Linked DNA regions of Homo sapiens: all the other regions are linked to region 1. Evidence: promoter capture Hi-C in 16 types of primary human blood cells and fetal thymus (Javierre and others, 2016). All regions are on one chromosome and are shown on one strand. The core of a region is centred on a gene start or on the middle of the fragment in contact, and the rest is flanking DNA. Distances in the headings are between cores, read along the strand shown.

Region 1 (5,859 bases), core at 2,050-4,549:
GATCTTGTTTTTCACCAAGGTCAGCCTTAAACCTAGAAAAAGCACCCTCCCCTGCTGTGGGAGTGTCCACCTATAGTCTGGACAATCCACCACCTTGCCAGCCCCTCCATCCACATAGAGACTGCTCCAGATCTATTCAGGGCAAAACATCTACAAAAGCTCTGCACCTATTCAGCTCATGTGTCCTCAGAGCAGCTCAATCATTCCAGCTTCAGAAAAACAATTTCTGGCTTTGCTGCCCCATTTTTTCCTCAGAGCTTTCTAGTTAAATCAAAATTTCTTCCCTTGTTCCTATCTAGCCCTCCCACTTTACCTGCAATATCCCACAGCTGAAGCCGCACTATCTCGTAGTCAGACCACTGGAGAACCTTCAGAGCAAAATCCACTGAAAATATATGTACATTATACTTTAATAAAATTTCACTGTAAAAAATTAATAGGGATAAACTCAAATCAAATAGGCAGTGAAACCCTATGGACACACAACTCCAATCCCATATGTTTAACTTTAAGCCCTCAATTCACTGAGATGAGTCCACATGCGTGTATTTAGTGTGAGATGGATGATTCATACTCACTCTCCAAAGGGGTTTCCAGCTTTTACTCTACTGTCAAGCTCATTTATTTGCTACTGTTTGTCTCCAAGACTGGGGGTGGGAGTAACTATGAAAACAATTCTCATTCTCAGGTTAAATAGTTTCTGGGAGATTTAGGGGGTTTTCTCAGGGAAGGGGTGATGGGGGAGAAGGGGGAAATGAGACAAGTGTGGTTGCTTTCGTATCTTCCACATTCAATTTCACTGTTGGTTTCTAATCAAATTGTATTATGAAAAGAACACACCCTGGGGAACTCTACATCCACCATAAGGTTGCAGGTATTATCTTGGGCAAGAATGGAATAAATGGAAAAGGTCCCAGAGGAGTCCCAAGAAGAAGACACTGTGTGGATGTTGCTGAAGAGTCCTGCTGGAATCTACCACCAAGTCTGCAGGTGCTGAGACTCCTTAAGGCTGAGTAAGTATTCCATGGGGAAAGCCTTTTGGCTAAGGAGAGAAACAGAGTAATTTCTGAGGTTTGGAAATATTATCTTTCACATCTGTGACAGGAATCAAAGCTAAGGGAAATTTAGACTAAACACTGAAAAAAAAATTAGCCAATTATATTCTTTGCTAAAGGAAAACTACAGCAATTGTTAAAAATTAACTATTAATAGCAGGCCACTTTTAACCCAAATCCGTGAAATAGGGACCCTTATATTATTTAGGAGTGGGAGGGCAGAGCGGTCAGGATAGAGTGTCTGAAACTTTGAACCTTTAATTTTGCCAGACTTAAATTTTTTGTTCCTTTGTTTTTGAGACAGGGTCTCACTCTGTTGCCCAGGCTACAGTGCAGTGAGTGGTGCGAACGGGGCTCACTGAAGCCTCGACCTCCCCAGTTCAAGCAATCCTCTCGTCTCAGTTTCCCGAGTAGCTGGGACCACGGCTACTTTCTTCTTTAATTTTTGTAGAGGTGGGGGTCTTGCCATGTTTCCCATGGCTGGTCTCGAACTCCTGGGCTCAAGCAATCCTCCCGCCTCAGCCTCCTAAAGTGCTGGGATTGCAAGTATGAACCACGGTACTGGGCCCTACTGGGGGTTCTTAAGGAGAATGTTTTAATTGCAATGTAAATGTTTGTTAATTTCTTTTTAAACTTCCATATGAACAGGAGCACACATTTTCAATTTTTCCATTGGTACGAGTTTTCCCCCCTTGAAACAAGTTCTTTTAACAGAGAGAAATAAAATTTTAAGTTACTCTCCCCCATCACCAGCTCTTCCTAGCTAAATACCTTCTAATTAACAATAAGGCATTTCTGCCTCTGAAAAAATAGTTGAGTCCAAAGGCCACACCCGGGAAAGAAATGAATGAACTCGGTGTCCCCTTCCTCCCTACCTTCTCCAGTTTGAGGAAAAAAGTGGTGGGAAGATAGGTCAGAGAAGTGGTATATTTCACATTCTTGGAAGAATTCCTTGGTTACCTTTATTTAAGCAATCAACGGACAAAAACACAGCTCATCAGCCCTCATGGGCATCTGACTGCGTAGCCAAGGGGCTCGTTCGGGGATTTTGTGTCTTCCATCCCACCCACAGCCCCACAACAAAGCTACAGTCCTTCAGACCAGTTCCGCTTCCTGCGTTCTCCCACTGAAGCCAGGTTAAACACCTTGCGGTTCCTCCCTCAACAGAGGGGCAGGACTACAGCCCCAGCCGGCACCTAACCAGGAGGCCCCACAGAGGATCTCAGCTGCTTCTGCTGATTGGAGAGATTTGCCGGACAGCTGAAAGGCTGGAGACTTAAGTTCACAGTACGCCTGCAATAAACAGCAATTGCTCATCCTCATCCTCCCTTCCCTATTTCTCATCTTCACGCCTTTGCTCTTACCTTTCTCCTGGCAGTGGGCTCAGTTTGGGAAAATCTAACGGGAAACTCAAGAGAGGCGTGTAAACCAAACACCCGGCAATTACACCATCTAGGTTCCCAGACAGTACTTCCTGACCCGAAGAAGGACCCAACAACCGACAGCAAATCCCCACCCCACTTGGGTCCCCAGCTCGAGTCCGCGGTCGGGGCCTCCTCCTCCCCCTCCCCCTCCCCACCCCCGAGACGTCTCACCTCCCACCGTGGACTTGTAGTGTTTGCTGAAGCTGTCCTGGGAATATCGCTGCACCAGCGACGTCTTGCCCACTGCGGCGTCCCCCACCACCAGCACTTTGAACAGGTGGTCGCGGCTGCCCATGGCTAGCGGGGTGTGCGTTTTAGGGAGGCGGGAAGTGTGGTCGGGGATCGGGGGTCGCTCGTTTTAACCCCTTTGGATCCGGACCCTCTTCAAACTGAAGTGAGGCATTCCCACCCACCGCCTGTCTGGGCTGCTCTGACGAGAAAGCAAAAAAGGAAACTTTGCACTCAACCTATACGCGCTTCCTCCCCGGGCGGCCGCAACCTGGGTGGGGCGCAGGGCGCGAGCTCCGAGCCCCCGGCTGTTCGCACCTTCCCCACCCCCTCCTGGCCTGACTGCCGAGAAACTGGACCAGGCGCCGCGGAACCTCACCCACCGGGACTTCCCCCGAGCGGCTCCAAGTCAGTGACTGAATCCCAGTCAGCTCCTTACACCACTGGGGCCAGATGATGGGGACCCTCCCCTTGCAGCACAAACCAAATTGTGAGGAAGGAGCAGCCGGCACCTCGATTCCCTAGACGCCCTCCCGCGCGCCTCTCTCTCCCCTTCCTCCGCAAGCGTCACGTGCAGGGTTGCCTGTGGCACTACATTTCCCAGCTTTCCTCGCGGTAAAGAGAACCAGCCGAGTGCGGAGGCTCACCGCGAAGCCTCCTGGGAAATGTAGTATATTCGTTATTTTGTTTTAAGCAAACCTACACCAAGTTTCAAGGCTTCAAACTCCCTCGACAGTTTGGAATCTTATTTTGAAACAATTCTAGGTCAGTAAAGATCCCTTAAGGGGAGATTTGTGCAACGTGATCTCACTGGCCTGAATCCATCCCCAGATAGTTTTCTCCTGTCTTTAAAGGTTTAACTGAGTTAAGATTGAAACTTATTTCATTAGTAAAAGCCCAAGCCTCATCCATCATGCTCCAAGTGAAGTCCATTTCCTATTCCTTCAAGTAGATAGACAAGCCCAGGACTTTGTGAAATGACTCATATTTTCTGTGTGAACTTGCCCAATACCAGGCAAGTTCAGGAAAACTTGACCCAAGAGACCAGTCTTTGGAAAAAAACCTATGCCAAAAATTACAGCATTTAATATCCAGCAATAACAATAAAGATGGACAGAAAACAAGAGACAGTTCTCCATTCATACTTCTACAATGCCTATTCTAGCCATACTACTCATGTATCACTTGAGCTAGAAGCTAATTGAAATACACTGGGACTCCTTCTTGATTTGTTGTGGCTGTTGTTAATAGATAATCATAAAACTAGTGTTTGGCAAATAATTTTAATTTCTCAGCCTGTAACTTTACTGACCTACCTGTCACTTGGGTAGAAGTTGGCAGGACATGAGCTCAATGGCAAGCAAAGAGAGCTCCATTTTCTATACTTTTCTAGGAATAGAGGAAGAGAACCAGCGGGGCCATGGGAAAACAGCCCAGGACCAGACACTAGGAAATCTAGGTCTCTTGATAGAGAGGCTATCACTTATGTTTTGTGGCGAAAGAACATCAGCATGGTTCACAATATATTTTGCCCAGAATGTTCGTTACCCAGGTACAGGAGGTTAGTTCAAGCTACTCATCTTTAAGGATCCAGTTTTCTCTGTTCTTATTCGTTTTGACATAGTTGACCACTCCTTGACATTTGTTTCCCTTATGCCTTCTATGACGCTGTTCTTTCTTTGTCATCCCCGTACTTCTCTGATGATTATCTTTTTCTTTCAGGTTTCTCTCCATCCCATTTCCCGCTAAGTATTTCCTAAGGCCTGATTCTTGGTCTCTGAGTCAATCATTCGATAAACTCTTTAGTGAATTGTCCTTGGTGTCAAAGATCTATCTTCACTTTATTTGTTCTTTATCTCTGATCAGTGATATTCTGTCAAGACCAGCTCTGTTGGGGAGACCCTAACCCAGTGGCGCTAGAGGAATTAAAGACACACACACAGAAATATAGAGGTGTGAAGTGGGAAATCAGGGGTCTGATTTCCTTTAGAGCTTTTAGAGCTGAGAGCCCCGAACAGAGATTTACCCACGTATTTATTAACAGCAAACCAGTCATTAGCATTGTTTCTATAGATATTAAATTAACTAAAAGTATCCCTTATGGGAAACGAAGGGATGGGCCGAATTAAAGGAATAGGTTGGGCTAGTTAACTGCAGCAGGAGCATGTCCTTAAGGCACAGATCACTCATGCTATTGTTTGTGGCTTAAGAATGCCTTTAAGCGGTTTTCCACCCTGGGCGGGCCAGGTGTTCCTTGCCCTCGTTCCTGTAAACTTACAACCTTCCAGCGTGGACGTTAGGGCCATTATGAACATGTTACAGTGCTGCAGAGATTTTGTTTATGGCCAGTTTTGGGGCCAGTTTATGGCCAGATTTTGGGGGGCCTGCTCTCAACATGTCCCTCTTCTCTGATTTGCAAATTGATAAATGCAAAGGCAGCTTTGTCACGGTGAGCTACTTCTCGCAGGAGTCAGGATACACATCTGCAGACTATACAAAGACAAACAACACAGATTAAAAGCACAATCATCATTGAAATCACAGAGCTTCCAAGTGTTTTTATCCATTTTCGGCTCCTTTAAGCACTCCAGTTCCTGGCATTAAGGTCAAGTGTGCCTCGGATGCTTTAAATATTTCTTCTTTTAATTTTAAATCCTTATGTTAAGCTCCTAGAGCGGGCCATATCATTTGAGGTTGAGGTGTCACTATACTGCCATGGTTCCAGATAATAGGAACTCTTGCTGTACTTCTTATTATATCTACCATCTGACCATTTTGTTCAGACCAGCTGAACATAGTGTGGCCGTGGCACGCAGACTGAGAGGTGCAATTCAAGCTAAACATCCCCTTAGGGGACCAATTAATAATGATTCCATAGGAATCATTGTGCAGCATCTCTGCCTGTTCTGCAATGCAATCTTCCTAAACAAGTACGTTCATTTTTTCTAACTGGGTCCAATCCTGTTTACAAATAAGTTTTTGAGGGCGGTATGCCTCAATTATAGGAGCAGATTTATTATGGTAAATACTGAGATCAGAAAGCATGTGTAACTGCGTCATAAAGTGATTGCATCCAGGCATTATTGCCAGCCAAGATTGATAAATATACCCAATAAGTATAATTGTTCTCTGTGTCAGCCCTTAATGAAGGA
Region 2 (5,859 bases), core at 859-3,358, 370 kb after region 1:
TCCCCACATGAGGCTGATACTGCTCGTCCAGGACTACATGTAAGAACCACTGCTCTAAACACTGGGTTCTTAGCTGCACATTGGAATCACCTGAAGACTTTTTAAAAAATGGGTGCTTTGATCTCACCCCTTAGAGGTTTTGATTTAATAGCTATGGAGGTATTTTTCAACCTTTCCAGGTAATTCTAATGTGCAACAAAGTCTGAGACCACTGCCCTAAAAGGCACTGAATTCAGGAAATGACTCGATTGACATTTGTTTCCTGACATTTGTTCATTTGACATTCAACATGTACTTGTTGAGCAACTACTATGTGCCATGCACTATGACAGAGGCTGTCTGGTTAGACTATATATGATCCCTTCCTCAAGGAGCTTACTGTTTCAGGGAAAACACAAGAAAAACAAGTCAACGAAAAATAATATACAATTAAAAATTGAGATAAGAGCCCTGGAAAAAAAAAGAGCAGGGACCTAGGGATCTAGGGGAATAAGGGTATGGGGAGAACTATTCTGGACAGAGATGTCATTGAGGATGTCTCCAAGATGACATTTAAGCCAAAACCAGAAAAATGAAGGCCAGCCATCCTGCGTATGGAGAGAAAAGCACTCCAAGGAAGAGAAAAAGTTCTCAGAACTGTCGGTCGGGAGGGGAGTGCTCCTGGAGGCAGAGAGCTGGGCAGGGCGACCTGAGACAAGGTCATGGGTGGGGTGGACAGGGCCACATCCCTCCTAGACCATGGGAACCAGCTGAAGTCATATTCTAAGTGCACTGGCAAGCACTGAGGGAGAACATTTCTGTTTTCATTTTATATTTGAAAGTATATACATTTTTAAGGCTGCCATGTGGAAAAGAGATTGGAAGCCTCTGAACCCAGGTTCTTCACCAAAGACAGATGAGAGCGAGGGATTCAGATGGTGACGAGTCATGAGAATGTCTCCCAAGGGTTGCTGAGAAGGGCTGCATGGGGTACACCGTGTGCGGCTGTAGCTTTCGGGAGAAGAACTGTGAGTGCCAGTCACATACGGTGGCTGAGTGCACGTCTCTTGTGCACTGCGTGGGCGAACTCACCAGATATTAAGTTACAGGCATCAGTTTAGCACCTCCACCTCTTTTCAGTGTGGACTTGGGCTGCAGGCTGTTCTAATGAGGGGCTGGCTTTACAGTTCCCTGTTAGATGAACTGGAGGTTCCAAGGCTGTCAGCCAAGCAGGGAAGTCCAACTCCAGGTCCTGCAGCCCAGGGATTCGGGACTCCCAGGTGCACGGCCATCTGCAGTCGCCCTTTGCATTGTGGGGGATTTTTAATCTGTTGGCCAGATGGAGGGTCGGAATAAATGGTTCTGGCAGTAACCAGACACCTGAGGTGGGAGGACAGCATGGAGGACGGTCTGTGGAAAAGCCTGTCCTGAGTAAGCAGGTGCAAACTCCCTCAGGACAAGAGAAGGGAGCTGTCTTGCAACACATACACGAACTCTTTGTCACTGTGAAATCCTTGCAGAATGCATTTGAGCTGAAACAAAATCCTCCTAAAGAGTACATTAATAGTCCTCATGAGGCCTTTCACAGCTAAGAACCTCCACCTGGTCCTAAACTGCATGCAGGGGAAGGAAAGAAGGGCAGGCCTTGCTTCAGAGTTTTACAGCCAGGGAAACAGAAATGGGGAGGAAGTGCAGGGCTGCCAGGGAAACGGAGACTTGGAGGAGGGCTAGTACTGCCTTAGGCTTAGAGGATGAGGACATCAGAGCAGATGCCTAGGCCCCTGTTCTCAATGCTATCCTAGGACCCATACATTGCCTCCCTTGGGGATAGGAAGGATTTTGTGCCAGAGGATGCAGCTCAAGAAACCTTATCTCGGGGTGGAAGTGGGGCAGGATTGCATCCCATGCAATAACAGGGCTAAGGCAGAAGAGAACCTGAAGCCTGCACTGAGCACCTCTGAGATGAAATCGCTGTGCACTGGGTTTAAATAGGGATGACACCAGGATCGTCCCTATTTAAGCAACATTCAGGGGAGATGAGTGAAGATGGGCCTGAAAAATGAGTCCAATAATGTTCTCAACAATAAATATTTACTAAGGGCAACCCATGTGCTAAGTACTGGGCTAGATGCCAGGAACAAGAGAGATCCTGACCTAGGTGAGGGAAAGAGACAGGGTAGCTACTTGGGCACAAAGGTTATATTTTATTTATCTCTGTATTATTCATGCCTGGCACTCAGCATATGGTTATTGAAAGCAATGACTTAATGACTTAATAAATTAACTGAAGCAGGTCTGGCTATCAGTGGGCACTCCATGTCTATTTCTAAACAAATGAATGTGTTGCTTCTACAAAGGACTCTGTGTACAAGATCTCTGGGAAGAAAGGTGGCAGATAACATAGGCGAGATGATGGAGGTTTGGAAAGAAAAGAATGTGGCAAGGATCAAGGCAAATAGTATGAGGAAAAAGAAAGAAATGTTGAAACTAGGGGCAGAGAAAAGCTAGAGAGGAAAAGAAATGTAATCATGGCATAGTGCATACTTATTCTGGGGTCAACAGTAGTTCAGGGTCATAAAAGCCTAGACATTATATTAGGAAGATGGAAGAGAAGAGCTGAGAAGCGTCAGTGTGTGAAAGAGTTACCTACCATTGCGGAAAATAAATAGATAATGTCCAAAATTGGTAAGTGAAGAAAAAGCACTAGAAGTTTATGTTTCGGGCATATGAAGGACAAAGAGTTAAAACGCGGTGGCTCTTGCCTGTAAACCCAGCAGTTTGGGAGGCCGAGGCGGACAGATCACGAGGTCAGGAGATCGAGAGCATCCTGGCTAACACGGTGAAACCCCGTCACTACTAAAAACACAAAAAATTAGCTGGGTGTGGTGGCGGGCGCCTGTAGTCTCGCTACTCGGGAGGCTGAGGCAGGAGAATGGCATGAACCCGGGAGGCAGAGCTTGCAGTTAGCCAAGATCGTGCCACCGCACTCTAGCCTGGGAGACAGAGAGACTCCATCTGGGGGCAGGGTGCAGGGAGCGGGGCGGAGGGGGGAGTGGTTACCCTCAGGCAAAAGGACAGGAGATGCCCTAAAAACTCCCCCGACTCTTTGGTTAGTCTGATTCCCTCCCCTGGCCCTAACAGCCTCCCCTGCTTAGATCCAAGTGGCAATAGGACCTGAGTCCCTTAGGCAGCCAACCCCACCCAAGCAGAAAGAAGAGACCAGGACATGAGCTGTAAAATGGAAAACAAGAACAGGCTTTTGAATAGAGAGGGATCGTGAGGCACCCCAGGCAGCTGTGAGGCTAACTTCCAAAGTCAGGATCTTTTAAAATGGTATTTGATTTTCTGGGTTGAATGGGACACTTCAACCAAATATAAAAATCTCTTCCTTGGGCAACAGCTGAAATAATGAAGGAAACCACAGGAGGGAGGAGGGGGTCAGGGCAGGATCAAAGCTAATCTCCTGGTTGCTCCTTGCTTAGATGGCTCGGTATGCCCCAGACCAATTCAGTCTCACGCTGCTCAAAGACAAGAAGAGGCTCTTAATAAAGAGAAGCATAACATAGAGGTAGAGAACAGAATGCCAGGGCTGGAACTGGTCTCAGCAACCATCTTGTCTGACTCCCCCTTTGCATGAAAAAGGGGGTGGTAAAGTTCAGTGGGATTGGGCCATCTGTCTAAGGGCAATAGAGGCAGACAGGACAGTCAGGGCAATGCTGTCAACAGACTTTGCATGTTCTGACTCCTGTCCACCTGTCTAGTTCTCTTTTCCCTGGCTACACCATTAACAAGAAAGATAAGCAGAACAACCATCTCTATAGTGAGCACTGGCTGAGAATCAGGAGACCTGGATTCCAGCCCCAGCTCCATAGAAAATCAATTGTTTAACCTTGGAAAAGTCACTTAACACTACCCTGAATTTTTTTACTTGTGGGCTAGATGGCATTTCAGGAGGTTCCGGTTCCACCCTCACAAGGCAGGTTCCAAGTTTGGAGAGAGAGATTTCATACTCATGTTATGCTCAAAAGGTCTAATTCAATACCTAGATCACCAAGGCGTACATATAGAAGCCCAGATTCCACAACTAAAGAATCAGGTTTTATACCTAGAGAGGCAGGATTCACATCAGGAGCTACTTTCCAACCCTGGAAAGTCAGGTTTCATAATTGGAAACCCAATTTCCATGTTTATAGAGCCAGGTTTTATGCGGAAGAGCAGAATATATATGCATAAAAAGGCAGGATTTACACCTAGGAGAGCTAAATATATCTCTGAAAGTCCATGTTTCATAAATGGAGTACAGGTTCCATGTTTATATGGTCAGGTTCAATGGCTGGGGATTGATATTCCATACACAGAGTGCCAGATTCCGTATCTGGGAGACCAGGTTCCATGCATGTAGAGTTGGCTTCTGTGACTCAAATGCCAGTTTCCATGCCCGGAGTTTTAGCTAGAGTGACAGATTCCACACTTGTAAGGGTATGTTCCATATTTGGAGATTGAGAATTCATATACACAGTACCAGTTTCCGTGTTTGTAGGGGTGGGGCTTATATGGACGTCCCAATTAATGAAATGCCTGCAAGTCTAGGTTTCATACATGGAGTGCAAGATTCCATGACGGTAAGGCCAGTTTTCATGGATGGAGTTTTGAGATTCCATACATATAATGCTAAGTTACTTGCTTTTAGGGCCAGGTCCCGTGGTTGAGTATTGAGGTTCTTATACAGTAAGTACCAATTTCAGCATTAGTAGTTCAAGTTTCACACTCAGAGACTGAGAGTTCATTCATGCATTGCCAGGTTCCATGCCTGGGGAAATAGGTTTTTAAGGCTTGGAGAGCCAACTTCTATGACTAAAACCCAAGGTTTCATGCCTGGAATGCCAGATTCCACATTTATAAGGCCACGTTATACTAGAAGATTGAGATTCCACACATGGGGTGCCATGTTGAATGCTCATAGGGCCAAGTTTCATGCTTTAAGTATATAGATTCTATGCTTGGAGATTGAAATTCCATAAATGCAGTACCAGATTCCATGTATGAACTGCAAGGTTAGATGATTATTGAAATCCATACATGCGGTGCCAGATTCTATGCTTGTAGGGCCAAATTCCATACCTAGATATTGAAGTATCATACATGGATTCCTGGGTTCCATACTTGTATGACCATGTTCCATGTTAGAGTTGAGATTCCAAACAGCTGGTGCCAGGTTCATGGTTTGGAGGCCAAGCTTCATGTTTTAGTGAGCAAACTTCTACAACTGAAACTCTAGGTTTCATGTCTGGGGTGACAGGTCACACACTTGTGAAGCCATGTTCCATGCTTAGAGTTAGAGATTTAATCCATTGAGTCCCAGTTCTGTGCTACTAGGGCCAGGTTCAATTTTTGGAGATTGAGTTTCCGTACATGGACTGCCAGTTTCCCTGTATGGGAAATGAGGTTCCTGATCTTGGAAAGCCAAGATCTATAATAAACATGCCAGGTGTCATGACTGGAGTGCCAGATTCCACACTTTTAAGGTCATGTTCCATGCTCAACACTGAGATTCCAAATATGAAATGTTAGGTTTTATGCTTGTGGGTCTGTTCCATGTTGAAGATTGAGATTCCACACATAGAGTGCCATGTCCCATGCTTGTAGGGCCAGATTTTATGCATGGATATTGTGATTCCATATGGAGTCCCTAGTTCTATGCCTGGCATAACAGATTCCATGCAAGGAAATCCAACTTCTGTGAATGGCACACAAGTTCTGTCTGTGCAATTTCAGGTTTCAGCCTATTACGATTTTCCATGCTTTGAGATTTTGATTCTGAATATGGATTGCTAGGTTCCATGCTTGTATAGTCAGGATCCATCCTTGGAGGTTGAGATT
Region 3 (5,859 bases), core at 1,484-3,983, 330 kb after region 1:
AGCTAATTTGACATGAAGTAAAAAGAAATTTTGCTCATAATAGCTAAACAAACATGCCCCCAAAATTGAAACCCTAGGTTTACTCCTAGCCAAATTCAAACCCAAGATCAGTGGTATTCAGGTTTTAGACACCTGAGATTTATTAACTGTGCTCCATTTGCTGGCTGTGGATGACCCTCCCAGCCCTGGTGCTGAGAGCATCAGGCAGGCTTTCCTCCTCCTGAGTTCTTCTTCCCCAAGATGATCTAAGGGGATGATTCTGGTTTGGGTTTCTGGGGTTGGAAAATGTTGCTGGCTTGTTTGTCCCTTCACCTTTTAGCTACCACTGTCGTTCCTCTCCTTACAAAGCTTTTTTTAATGGGGTACAACAGAGTCTACTGATTAGACAGGCAGAATGAGGAATAAATACCAAAAATAATAACAGCAACATTGTCCCATCAAGAAGTGAAACTCTACTTCTTATTGATTTCTTCTATTTATTATTTATCTAATTATTTACTTTTAGAGACAGGGTCTCTGTCACTCAAACTGGAGTGCAGGAGTATGATCATGACTCAGTGTAACCTTCAAATTCCTGGGTTCAAGTGATCCTCCTGCCAAAGCCTCTCAAGTAGCTGGGACTATAGGTGCATGCCATGATGCCTAGTTAATTTTAAAAATTGTTTTGTAGAGAGGGTTTCACTATGTTGCCCAGGCTGCTCTTGAACTCCTGACCTCAACAGATCCTCCTACCTCAGCATCCCGAAGCACTGGGATTACAGGCATGAACCACTGCACCCGGCCTGATCTCTTAAAAAAAGGGGGAAAAAATGCCAGGCGCGGTGGCTCACGCCTATAATTCCAGTACTTTGGGAGGCCAAGGCGGTTGGATCATTTCAGGTCGGGAGTTCGAGACCAGCCTGGTCAACATGGTGAAACCCCGCCTCTACTAAAAATATAAAAATTAGCCTGTTGTGGTGGTGCACGCCTGTAATCCCAGCTACTCAGGAGACTGAGGCAGGAGAATGGCTTAAACCGGGAGGCAGAGGTTGCAGTGAGCCAAGACGTGCCATTGCACTCCAGCCTAGGTGACAGAGCAAGACTCCGTCTCAAAAAAAAAGAAAAGAAAAAAAAATTCAAGAGTGTACTGAAGAGATTCAGACAAGTTACATTGCACCCAAGAGACACCGCAGGGACAATGCTGAGACAGCTCCCACCAGGAGAGGGGATGAGAGTAAACAGACTGCCTGCTTTCCGCAGAATTCTGGGACAGGCCTTGGGTGTTGAGAGGAGAGATCAACAAAAAGAAGATTGGGTGGGGTCAAGGCATCTATGACCTAATTGTGGGGACAGGAAAGAGCCAGAGAGCATGTACAAAACAACATGTAAAAAACAATGAACACAGAGCAATGAAACCAGAGCCTATCAGTATTTACACAGATCCGGGGAATAGGATGTTAGAATCAGCCAGCCTTAATCAGAAAAAACATCCCAGAAAGAGGTGATTTCTGACCTCAGTTTAGAAAAAAAGGGCGGAGGCCGGGCGCGGTGGCTCACGCCTGTAATCCCAGCACTTTGGGAGGCCAAGGTGGGCGGATCACAAGGTCAGGAGATCAAGACCATCCAGGCTAACATGGTGAAACCCCGTCTCTACTAAAAATACAAAAAATTAGCCGGGCGTGGTGCCCGGCGCCTGTAGTCCCAGCTACTCGGGAGGCTGAGGCAGGAGAATGGTGTGGACCCGGGAGGCGGAGCTCGTAATGAGCCGAGATCGTGCCGCTGCACTCCAGCCTGGGGACAGAGCGAGACTCCGTCCCCCCCGCCAAAAAAGAAAAAAAGGGTGGAAAATCAACTGATGGGAGAAAAGGCAGGAGGAAAAGGAACAGACCTGACCTGCTGCAGGCTCTCAATAAATGCCTGAGGGGCGGCCCAGAGTGGCACTGTCTGGAGAACTGTCTGTGTCTGGGCTCAGAGGCTGCTGTGATACTCTGGCGCAGGGAGTTGACGTCAGGGAGACCAGAGACCAGAGGCTAGAATGATTGTAGACCATCTGATTAAGCTCTGTAATAAACTCTGCTTCAGAAATATGACATTCAGTAGTGAATATATCATGGAGGTTAACATTAGAACCCACCCTGATTGCTTATTAAGTGAAGGCATTCTTGGAGAGTGCTGTTAGATTTAACAGTTAGATTTAACAGTAGATTTAAACGTGTGACCCTACCAAGTGACTTACAGAGGTTAGAACTTCAATAGTGCACATGACTGCTCAGATGCCCTCATAAGTACAGAGGAAGGCTGATGTCACCTCCTGAGGAGTTTGAGCCAATAAGCTAATAATTGGGGCCAGCTAACAAATTGAACTAATCCTCAAAGTCATTGCAAGCCACGTAGAAACAAAATGGCCTTTTGTTTGTCATATTTCCATGAGCTTCAAGGGTGAGCTGTCTAAATCGGTACAAATAGTCACCTGTATGAGTAACCACCCTTTGAGGAGCATAGCTTCCAGTTCAGTGAAGTCACATTCTCCCACGTTATATGTCATTGGTACCTCCCAGAAACAATCATACTGTTTCACACTGGGTTTCTCCATGGACATGGACTGGACAAAGATTTTTCCAAAATTATCTGATAATAAGACACAGAAAAACTGATTTGCTATTGGCAACCAGTAGATGGTGGATTACATGCCAACAATGACCTAGGAATATAGACCACAGTAGACCATAATAAATGTGACCTGTTTTCAATGAATTCTTATTCTAAAGGAGCAAGCATCCAAATGCTCACCATGGGAACTGCAGCAAAATTCCACGAGCATCCTATTAGCCACCAAGACGTGCTAGGGTGAGGAGGTATTTTACGCTCAACATCAGTGGGTTTCTTTGCTTCTGGAATTGGGACAGATTGCTGGGCTCCGAGGCACTCTCAGAGAAGCCTCCTAACCCATGCCCCCAGATTCTAAACCAGAACCCGTAAAGTAACTATAGCTCATGTGGCTTTTTGAGGTCCTACTAGGGCCCTCAAACACTGACTCATGTGTCTTGCTGCCTTTTGGGCAGGAATTCCTATACTCATTTCCTCACCTTGCAGTAGAAACCTCTTGTTCTTTGCCTTGCCAAATCTCCGTGGGTTTAGAGAGAACCCAGTGTGTGTCCATGTATCTCAGGAGAACCGGGTCAAGTGAGGGACCAAGACTCTTTGGAACTTGAGGACTCACAAGCTAAGAGGCTGGGTGACTTTCCTAGCCTTCCCTGTTAGTCATTACTGCTTCATATCCTCCAGGAGAGTTAAAGAATGTGCACTGGATCTCAGCAATATTTGGCTAGAGAAAGGGCCTTACCCTGATTCTTAGGCAGGAGCTGCCAAGTCAAGCCCAGCGGAGGCCAGGCCCACTTTTGGCTCCACACTGCCACCTTGTGGTCCTATGGCAAACTCGAAGACACTGCTTTTCCCACTTAAACTGGATGCAGGGTGGCCCCTTTCCCCAGCAACCTCACCCCTTCACTCAAGACAAACACACTTTAATTTTATCTTGCACATCCAATTATCATTGTCCCTAGAAAACTAAAGATGCGCAGGAATTTCCTGGATATTAAATCTTTTTATTGGTGAATTTCAACCTGGGTTTCTGACCCAGGAATGAACTGCTACAGCCTGGGCTGAATCTATAGCCCTGTAGTAGATAAGTGATCTATTTACATACAAAACACAGACACATTATCTGGGAAAGTACTGGCCTGTGCCAAACAACATAACGATTCTGAGAAATCCCCGTAGTCAACCGATGAACCCCTCCTGTCCTCCTCTCTGTCCCGTCTGCCCCTCATGTCCTGCTTGTACATAGGTTTTAAGGGACTAAAGTACTGTCATTCACAGTCACAGGATGGCATAAACAATTTACACAAGTGCCCAGCCAGAGACGGCATTGTTCAGTTTCTCCTGGGGTTAGCCGTCAGAAATGGGATTCACCCCAGAGAGCACAGAGCCTCCTTCTTGCTTCCACAGGGCCCCTCCTCCTTGAACCCTATCCAAGGCCCTTCCACTGGCCCAGACTGTCCAGGCGAGCCTCCTACAGGTCCTGCAGAACTTTCACTCATAGATCCGATGAGATCCACCATTTCCTTCAGGAGCTTCCTGGAATGGGTTCCCGAGGCCCTCAGCCAGTGTGCAGTCGCTCCCCACTGTCCATATCACAGGACAGAACCAGCTTTCTGGAAAAGATCAAGTGTAGCCTTTCCATGGGAGGAACAATGAGGGCTCCAAAGCCACCACCCCAAGTAAATTATTCTTGTGCAATGCAAAACAGAAAATATCATAGTAGTAAGAGGGGATCTATAGAAGGCAAAGGGTAGACAAGAAAGTGCTTTAGTCAGCCTTGATCCCAGGTCTGTCTCCTCTTTTCCTCTCTGAACTGTAGACTCTTTTGGGTCAGGACCCTGGAGGTCATCTACCAGATGCAATCTGGAGCCAGGCCATTGTTCCCCTCTCTAACATCTGTTGAGTGCTCTATCTCTAGTCTACAATCTTACAAATCCCTCCCAACAAAGTGGGCATTGCTATTTCTATTTAATAAATGAAGAAAGCATTGCTGGGGGAGATTGGATAACTTGCTTAAGTTGATACAGGTAGAAAAGGGGTGAGATCAAGATGCAAACCCAGGTCTTTGGGGCACACAGCTGGTGTTCCTTCTACCTCCCAGTCATCATGAAGAACAAAGATTTACCAACTCTAGGCATTAGGGTCAGAAACTGTGGTCTAAAGATGGGGCAAGGGGGTGGGGAGGCCGCTTTTGTAAGCAGGGGAAGGAGCAGATTCAACAGCTCTGGCTGGCATGGGAGGCTTCTAAGCCCACTTCACCAGGGCAGATAGACAGGGAAGAAGTATTAGATGTCAGGGGCTGACATGGGCAACAGAACTCAGTGAGAGGGAGACTGTGGGTCCTCCCATCTGCCTGAGCCTTGGTCCCATTAGGGTCTCACTCTCCAGTTCTCTAGCACTGAAGGACTGGGACGCTTTGCTCACTCACAACATTCAGCAAGGCTCTTTTCTTTTTAGAAAGCCTCAGGAGGCTTCTTAGAGCTGAGTGGCCTCTTAAAGAAGTATATCCGCAAAGCCACAGTCATTCCTCAAAGCTTCCCTGGGAGTCAGGGGTAGAGACTGAAAGTGTTCCCTAGAGCTTCCCTCAGGAGCTCTTAATTAGATTAGTAATTCCTTACGTTAGTATAGAGCTCATGACTTTACAAATGACTTTTATATCCACAGTCCTATTTGATTCTCAGAACCAAGCTAGCAAGGACTGGCCAGCATTTTATTGATGTGTGTCATTGGTGGTGGCAGAACCAGGATGCAGCTTTGCTGATGTTTCAGCTGATGTCTTTTCCACCAGCAAGGCTCTCTCTTCAATTGGAATCAGAATTGGGTTGGGGAAGCTATGCCATGATAAAAGTCCCCTGGAGATAATGAGCATGTGCCATGCTCTTCCTCTACCTCGGTCTACCTTGGCCTGCAGCCTCTCCCAGCCTTGGAGGAGGATTCAGCATCCCAGATGAGGACAAAAGTGGACAGTATGGCCATGGTGGGACCCACCGTCACCAGAATTGAGTCAAAGAGTATATCAATGCCATTGTCATAAAAATGCAACAACTCTTCTAGACCCTGTTGGTTATAATATCCTTTGTGTTTCTCTGTAACACCATTTCCAGTATTGCAGAGTCATGGAAGGTTGGAGTTTAGAGATCATCTCACCTATTACACAGGTGAGGAGACTGGGTCCTGGAAAGGGAGAGTGACTCACCCAAGGTCACACAGATACTGAAGGCAGAGCTGAGATTCAAACCCGGGCTCCTAACTGGATCACAGCATCCATATGGTTCATGG
Region 4 (5,859 bases), core at 1,708-4,207, 270 kb after region 1:
AATCCTGGCACTTTGGGAGGCTGACGTGGGTGGATTACCTGAGGTCAGGGGTTCGAGACCAGCCTGCCCAACATGGTGAACCGCCATTCTCTACTAAAAATACAGAAGATTAGCCAGGTGCAGTGGCGTGTGCCTGTAATCCCAGCTACTTGGGAGGCTGAGGCAAGAGAATCACTTGAACCTGGGAGGCGGAGATTGCGGTGAGCCGAGATCAGGCCACTGCACTCCAGCCTGGGCGACAGAGCAAGGCAGCCTTAGAATCTTTTGGGGACCTATGCTGAAATCCATTAAGTTTGTCATAAATTTTTTTCATCTTTGTTGTATCTGCTCCCTCAAATCATTATAGCCTATATTCAGTGCTTCTGTTGGTGATGGTTGTGGTCAACCAAAAACCTAAATAATCCTTCTCCAGCTGTATCATTTACTGTAGGGAAAAAAATTAATGTTTACATATAGATATATTTGCATTTTGAAAATGTACAAATCTAAAAATAATTGTCAACTGTTCCACGTGGCTTACATCAGGAAATGTACCTCAAGTTATTTAACTGTGTGATATTTAGCACTTCTTACAAGATTCAAAATAACTTCAGTCAACAAATCTGCTATATTTTAATCATTTGGTTTTGCTTTTCATCTGCTACATAATGTGTAAATGCTATTTGGTGTTTATATATAGTATATAATATTTATATATAGTATATAATATTTGGTATATATTTGGTGTTTATATATAGTATATAATATTTGTACAATAATATACAAGTATATGTTTATATAAACAAATATATATTGTATATATACAAATTATTGCATATTTGAAACATACAATATATATTTGTATACTGCTGTAAATTCTATTAAGCTTCTATGCTTTTCGTAAATGAAGAAAATTCCTGTTATTATACTGCTTATACATTTTTGTAGATGATCCTCTGAATGCTAGATATTGTCTTGCCAAAACAGAATTGAGTTTTTTTGTTCAATGTAATATTTTCCTCATCATATAGAATCTGTTTTGCAGCATTAATAATTATATATTTCTAATCAGATTTGAAATTTGAATACTTAGCATTCCTATTGATGTTTATTTCAGATTCTTCATGTTTACAAAAAAATGTGCCAAGTGCTGTACAATCTTTGCATTCTTTCCCATTTTCCAGCTGATTTTTTGTTCTCAAAGAGCTGGCAAAATACAGAGTCCTTGGAAGTATAATAAAATAATCAGAATCTAGTCATTATTATTTCTCCTCACCATTTGGAAAAAATTTGTGTCCATTATATTTCCAAAAACTTCCAACCTGTATTATCTTTTGTAAAGATAAAAAATTTTTTACTTGAGGTGAATAATTTTCAGCAAGAGTACATCTTTGTTTCCTATTCAAACTACTTGGCCATGTGTTTGAATTCTTTGCATTTTTAAAGCTACTTTTTTTTAGATTCATCGATTATTTCTGACAATGGAACTAAAAGGTAAATTCACATCTCACATTTCTGTGACACATTCACTGAAACAAACAGCCCTAAACTCTCTATTTCTCCCTAAATTTATTCAATAATCCAAATAGTTTTACTTTACTTTCTATCTAGACAGCTTTTCATCTTCTAGTTTTAGTTTGATTTTTTTTTCTTATCAGTATCCTGGGAGAAATAATATTATATTAGCTTATTAAATGTTAAAGAAATATTATTAAGGCCGGGCATGATGACTCATGCCTGTAATCCCAGCACTTTGGGAGGCTGAGGCGGGTGGATCACGAGGCCAGGAGTTCAAGACCAGCCTGACCAACATGGTGAAACCCCATCTCTACTAAAAATACAAAAATTAGCCAGGCGTGGTGGCACATGCTTGTAATCCCAGCTACTCAGGAGGCTGAGGCAGGAGAATAGCTGGAACCCGGGAGGCGGAGGCTGCAGTGAGCTGAGACCATGCCACTGTACTCCAGCCTGGGCATCAGAGCGACACTCTGTCTCAAAAAAAAATATATATATATATATATGTGTATATATCTATATACATAATTAAAACATAATAGTAGTTTATCCTAGAACTTAAAACTTTAAAAAATATATATAATAAGCCATGAAACTTTACCAGCAGTTAGCTTTTCTCCTGAAGAAATTTTCTTTAACAACCCATAAACAATAGCTATGATACAATTCACAATTCATGATATAATAGTCTCTAATTTATGAATATAAAATAATTATTTTATGAATATATAATTGCCTATGATCATTAATTACCACAAAAGTGAGTTATGTAATAATAAAAATCCGTAGATCTAAATTAGGAATTCAGAGCTACCATTCAGGCAGACAATATGAACTGTAATGCAAAACTTCAAATTTAGCCAATACACAAATACTAATACAGGATTTAAAAAAAAATTAGATAAAAATCAAAACAAGAGTTGGAAAACAACTCCTTGTTTGGAAGCACTAGTTATTGTGGCACTCGTTACTTAAACCAATAAGGTCTTTGTCAAACACTCTCTGCTTCAGCTTATGAAGTAAATGTCAACCCTGTTAGAAAATCTATTTCCATCTGAAAGAAAATTGTCATAAAAAAGGATCTTTGTTAGAGAAGACATTTTATTGTTATTTGTCAGAAAACTATTTTAATAAGAATATGTCATCTACCTTTAGAGTTAGCAGTTAAATAAAAAAGTGAAAAAAATTCAACATAATGATGTCTGTGATGTGCATAGTTTCTGTCTTTCTTTTTTTTTTTTTTTGAGACGGAGTTTCACTCTTGTTGCCCAGGCTGGGGTCCAATGGTGCGATCTTGGCTCGCTGCAACCTTCACCTCCCGGGTTCAAGCGATTCTCCTGCCTCAGCCTCCTGAGTAGCTGGGATTACAGGCATGCCCCACCACGCCTGGCTAATTTTTTATATTTTTAGTAGAGACAGGGTTTCTCCATGTTGGTCAGGCTAGTCTTGAATTCCCAACCTCAGATTATCTGCCCACCTTGGCCTCCCAAAGTGCTGGGATTACAGGTTGGATAGTTTCTTTAGATGTCATGCCCTTGAGCAATAAACAACCTGAACAACTGTCCTTAGCTACTCCAAAATTTATGTGGTTATTACAGCTAATAAAGATGATATAGAAACAATCTGTGTAGTAAATGAAAGGTAGTTTAAGGGATTTTGAGACCTCTGTTTGGATGCTGGTTTTGTTGTTTGCTAACTGTGACCTGGAGCAATTCACTTATCACTCAGTTACCTCAGCTACAAATGGGGATAAGTATGCCTCATCCTTTAAACTGCTGACCGGAGGTCACACGAGATATCCCCAGTTCTGAGTCGTCAACGAAATCGTAAGATGTGCATAAGGTTTCCATTTTGCACTTGTTAAAAATGTGCTTGCGGCCAGGTGCGGTGGCTCATGCTTGTAATCCCAGCACTTTGAGAGGCCGAGGCCGGTGGATCACTTGAGGTCAGGAATTTGAGACCAGCCTGGCCAACATGGTAAAACCCCGTCTCTACTAAAAATACAAAAATTAGCTGGACATTGTGGTGGGTGCCTGTAATCCCAGCTACTCGAGAGGCTGAGGCAGGAGAATCACTTGAACCCGAGAGGCAGAAGTTGCAGTGAGCCGAGATCACGCCACTGCACTCCAGCCTGGGCGACAGAGTGAGACTCTTGTCTAAATAAACAAATAAGTAAGTAAAATGTGCTTGCTTAAAAAAAATTTTTATTATGTTTTTAAATTGAATGAAGGATATGTGCAGAGCCAGTAAAGGATGGTAATATGGGATCAGTTCCTGTTAAGTCACCTGTGGACAGTTCTGGCTTCACATGTTCACTGGTGCTCTTTTGTAGGAGCCCAAGAGGCTGACAGTTTAATTTTCTTAGGATGCCAAATGTTAAGACACCTGTTTGACGTTTGCAAATAAGCTGCTGTGCAAAATGAAAACCTGATGGTGATCTTTAAAGCAACCCCAACCAATAAATACCTCTGTAATAAACCTCAAGAGGACGCAGGGTTTCTATTTGGAGAAATGAAATTCTGCAAAAGCAACCAGAAAAACATTTAAAGTCCTAGAAATGGTGAGAGTATATGGCTCCACTCGGTTACGGCAGCACATCTGTGGCCAGCCTGAAAAAGAGCAAAGGGAGTGTGTCCAACTTCTCATTCATTCAATGAGCATTTATTGAGGGCTGCTGTGTTCCAGGCACTGGCCTAGAAGCCGGGGAGATAAGTGAAATCAGACATGATCTCAGTCCACTGGGCTCTTGAAGTTCATGAACTGTCTTTCGTGCCCTCTGTCTTCCCAGGTTCTGTTCCTCCCTCCTTCTGCATCCTAGGTGACAGCCTTCCTTTCACCCTCAGGTGTACAATGCTCCCTCTCTTAGCAGTGATTTCAGATGTTCATCGAAGGAAAAATGGCTGGATATTCCAACTGCCATGCCTTCACTACAAGCACCCTCCCATCTGGTATATCCACAGCCTCAGCACTGCCATAGGAATCCTTCCTACACATCCGTGACCACAACAAATGCCACCTCCTCCATGTAGTCTTCCCTCGTCACTAAAGTTAGAAACAACCTGCTCCTCCTTTCTGATCCAATAGCCCTTTCTTTGTACATCTTTTTAGCTTTGATTATACACCTACCTTTTGTTACAGCTGCTATGGTTGCCGCGGATATTTTCCTCGCTAAATTGGGGTGGGGGGTGAGCGTGGGGTAGCACTCTCTGAACCCAGGGCCCGTGTCTCATTCTTCTCTATCCTTGTAAGCTGTCTCACGCTGCTAAGGACATACCATATGCTACAGAGAAGTTTGACTGGATTGGATTTTTTTTTCTTTGATTTTAGCTACCCAGAATCAGATTGATCAATCCCCCTAGTGGCATTCTTACATCATGGGTCCACGAACTGCTCTTATGTTCTATTTATTTCATATTTTTGAGTCTTTGTTCTCCATTTCCCGTCCGCTCCACCCATCCCACCCCACTCCTGTTATAGACACACTCTCTTGTTTTATTAAAGTGTGACCTTCGAATCTATCTTCCATAATGTTATTTGCACACTTGTGTAAGCTTGAGTGATACTTGAGATTGTTGGGATTGAATTTGCCTTTGGCTGAGGGAATGAAACACCTCCACTGGAATTTCAGGCACCAGCACCTGCAAGGAAGTTTTTTGAGGCAGTGGCTCTTGGAATCACAGCAGGAGGTAGTCAGCAGCTTAGTCCAGGGGCGGCGGACTTATCCAGCTTCCTCTTCCGCTTCTTCTGCAGGCTCCCCCAACCTCAGAGCCTCCTTGTTGCCTCATGCCTGGACTTTGCCCCTCTGGTAGAGCCTTTCTACACAGCCGCTGCACTGCCAGCCAGCAGGCTCCGGGGGGAATTCTTGTGTCCAAGCAATTGCTGTCCTCTTGACACATCGCTATTTGAGAACACCCAATCTGTTCCTCCTGAATCTTTTGGCTTGCACCCCTGGATGTAGCATAGCACACTCTTGGCAGATAAGGCAAAATGCTCCTCTCTTGCCCTATGGTGAAGAAATGCCATGGGTCCTTAGATCAGCAATTCTCAAACTCTTTGGCCTCCAGACCCCTGTACACTCTCAAAAAGTACTAAGGAACCCAAAACGCTATTGTTTATGTAGTTTATATCTATTCATATTGACCATATCAGAAATTAAAACTAAGAAAATTTAAAAATATTTATCTAATCCCCTTAGAAAATAGTACCAAAGCCATTACATCTTAAACATAACACTTTTTATGAAATATAACTATTTCCCAAAGCATGAAGAATTTAATGAAAAGAGAAGCACTGTTTTATGCATGTGCAAATCTCATTATTCATACCTAGCTCAATAAAAGACAGCTGAGTTCTCAGGTCTGCCTT

Evidence for each region. Contacts are between HindIII fragments. The CHiCAGO score rates a contact against its expected background, and 5 or more counts as called.
Region 2: a fragment that was not itself captured here is called in contact with the fragment with the promoter of RAB29 in region 1 in 1 of 17 cell types (M1 macrophages); the score reaches 5.0 in M1 macrophages.
Region 3: a contact is called between a fragment that was not itself captured here and the fragment with the promoter of RAB29 in region 1, in 3 of 17 cell types (endothelial precursors, erythroblasts and M0 macrophages). The highest score is 7.6, in endothelial precursors.
Region 4: a contact is called between a fragment that was not itself captured here and the fragment with the promoter of RAB29 in region 1, in 2 of 17 cell types (erythroblasts and naive B cells). The highest score is 5.9, in erythroblasts.

What each region holds. Positions count from the first base shown.
Region 1 is chr1:205,772,183-205,778,041 of GRCh38, forward strand. It overlaps RAB29 (RAB29, member RAS oncogene family), which reads right to left and starts at 3,300. Exons shown (of 6, transcript NM_003929.3): 1 at 3,091-3,300; 2 at 2,651-2,904; 3 at 314-385. The coding sequence starts at 2,774. RefSeq lists an enhancer at 2,165-2,214. The HindIII fragment of the contact is 8,570 bases long and covers 1-5,859 here.
Region 2 is chr1:206,142,676-206,148,534 of GRCh38, forward strand. It overlaps LOC105372873 (a long non-coding RNA gene), which reads left to right and starts at 4,489. Exons shown (of 2, transcript XR_922477.2): 1 at 4,489-4,601. The HindIII fragment of the contact is 6,217 bases long and covers 1-5,217 here.
Region 3 is chr1:206,103,373-206,109,231 of GRCh38, forward strand. AVPR1B (arginine vasopressin receptor 1B) reads right to left here. Exons shown (of 2, transcript NM_000707.5): 2 at 3,564-5,859. Among named protein-coding and RNA genes, the nearest start is that of AVPR1B, 11 kb to the right of the region's middle. The HindIII fragment of the contact is 4,766 bases long and covers 351-5,116 here.
Region 4 is chr1:206,043,516-206,049,374 of GRCh38, forward strand. No RefSeq gene overlaps it. Among named protein-coding and RNA genes, the nearest start is that of RHEX, 6.7 kb to the right of the region's middle. RefSeq lists an enhancer at 4,068-4,237. The HindIII fragment of the contact is 4,180 bases long and covers 868-5,047 here.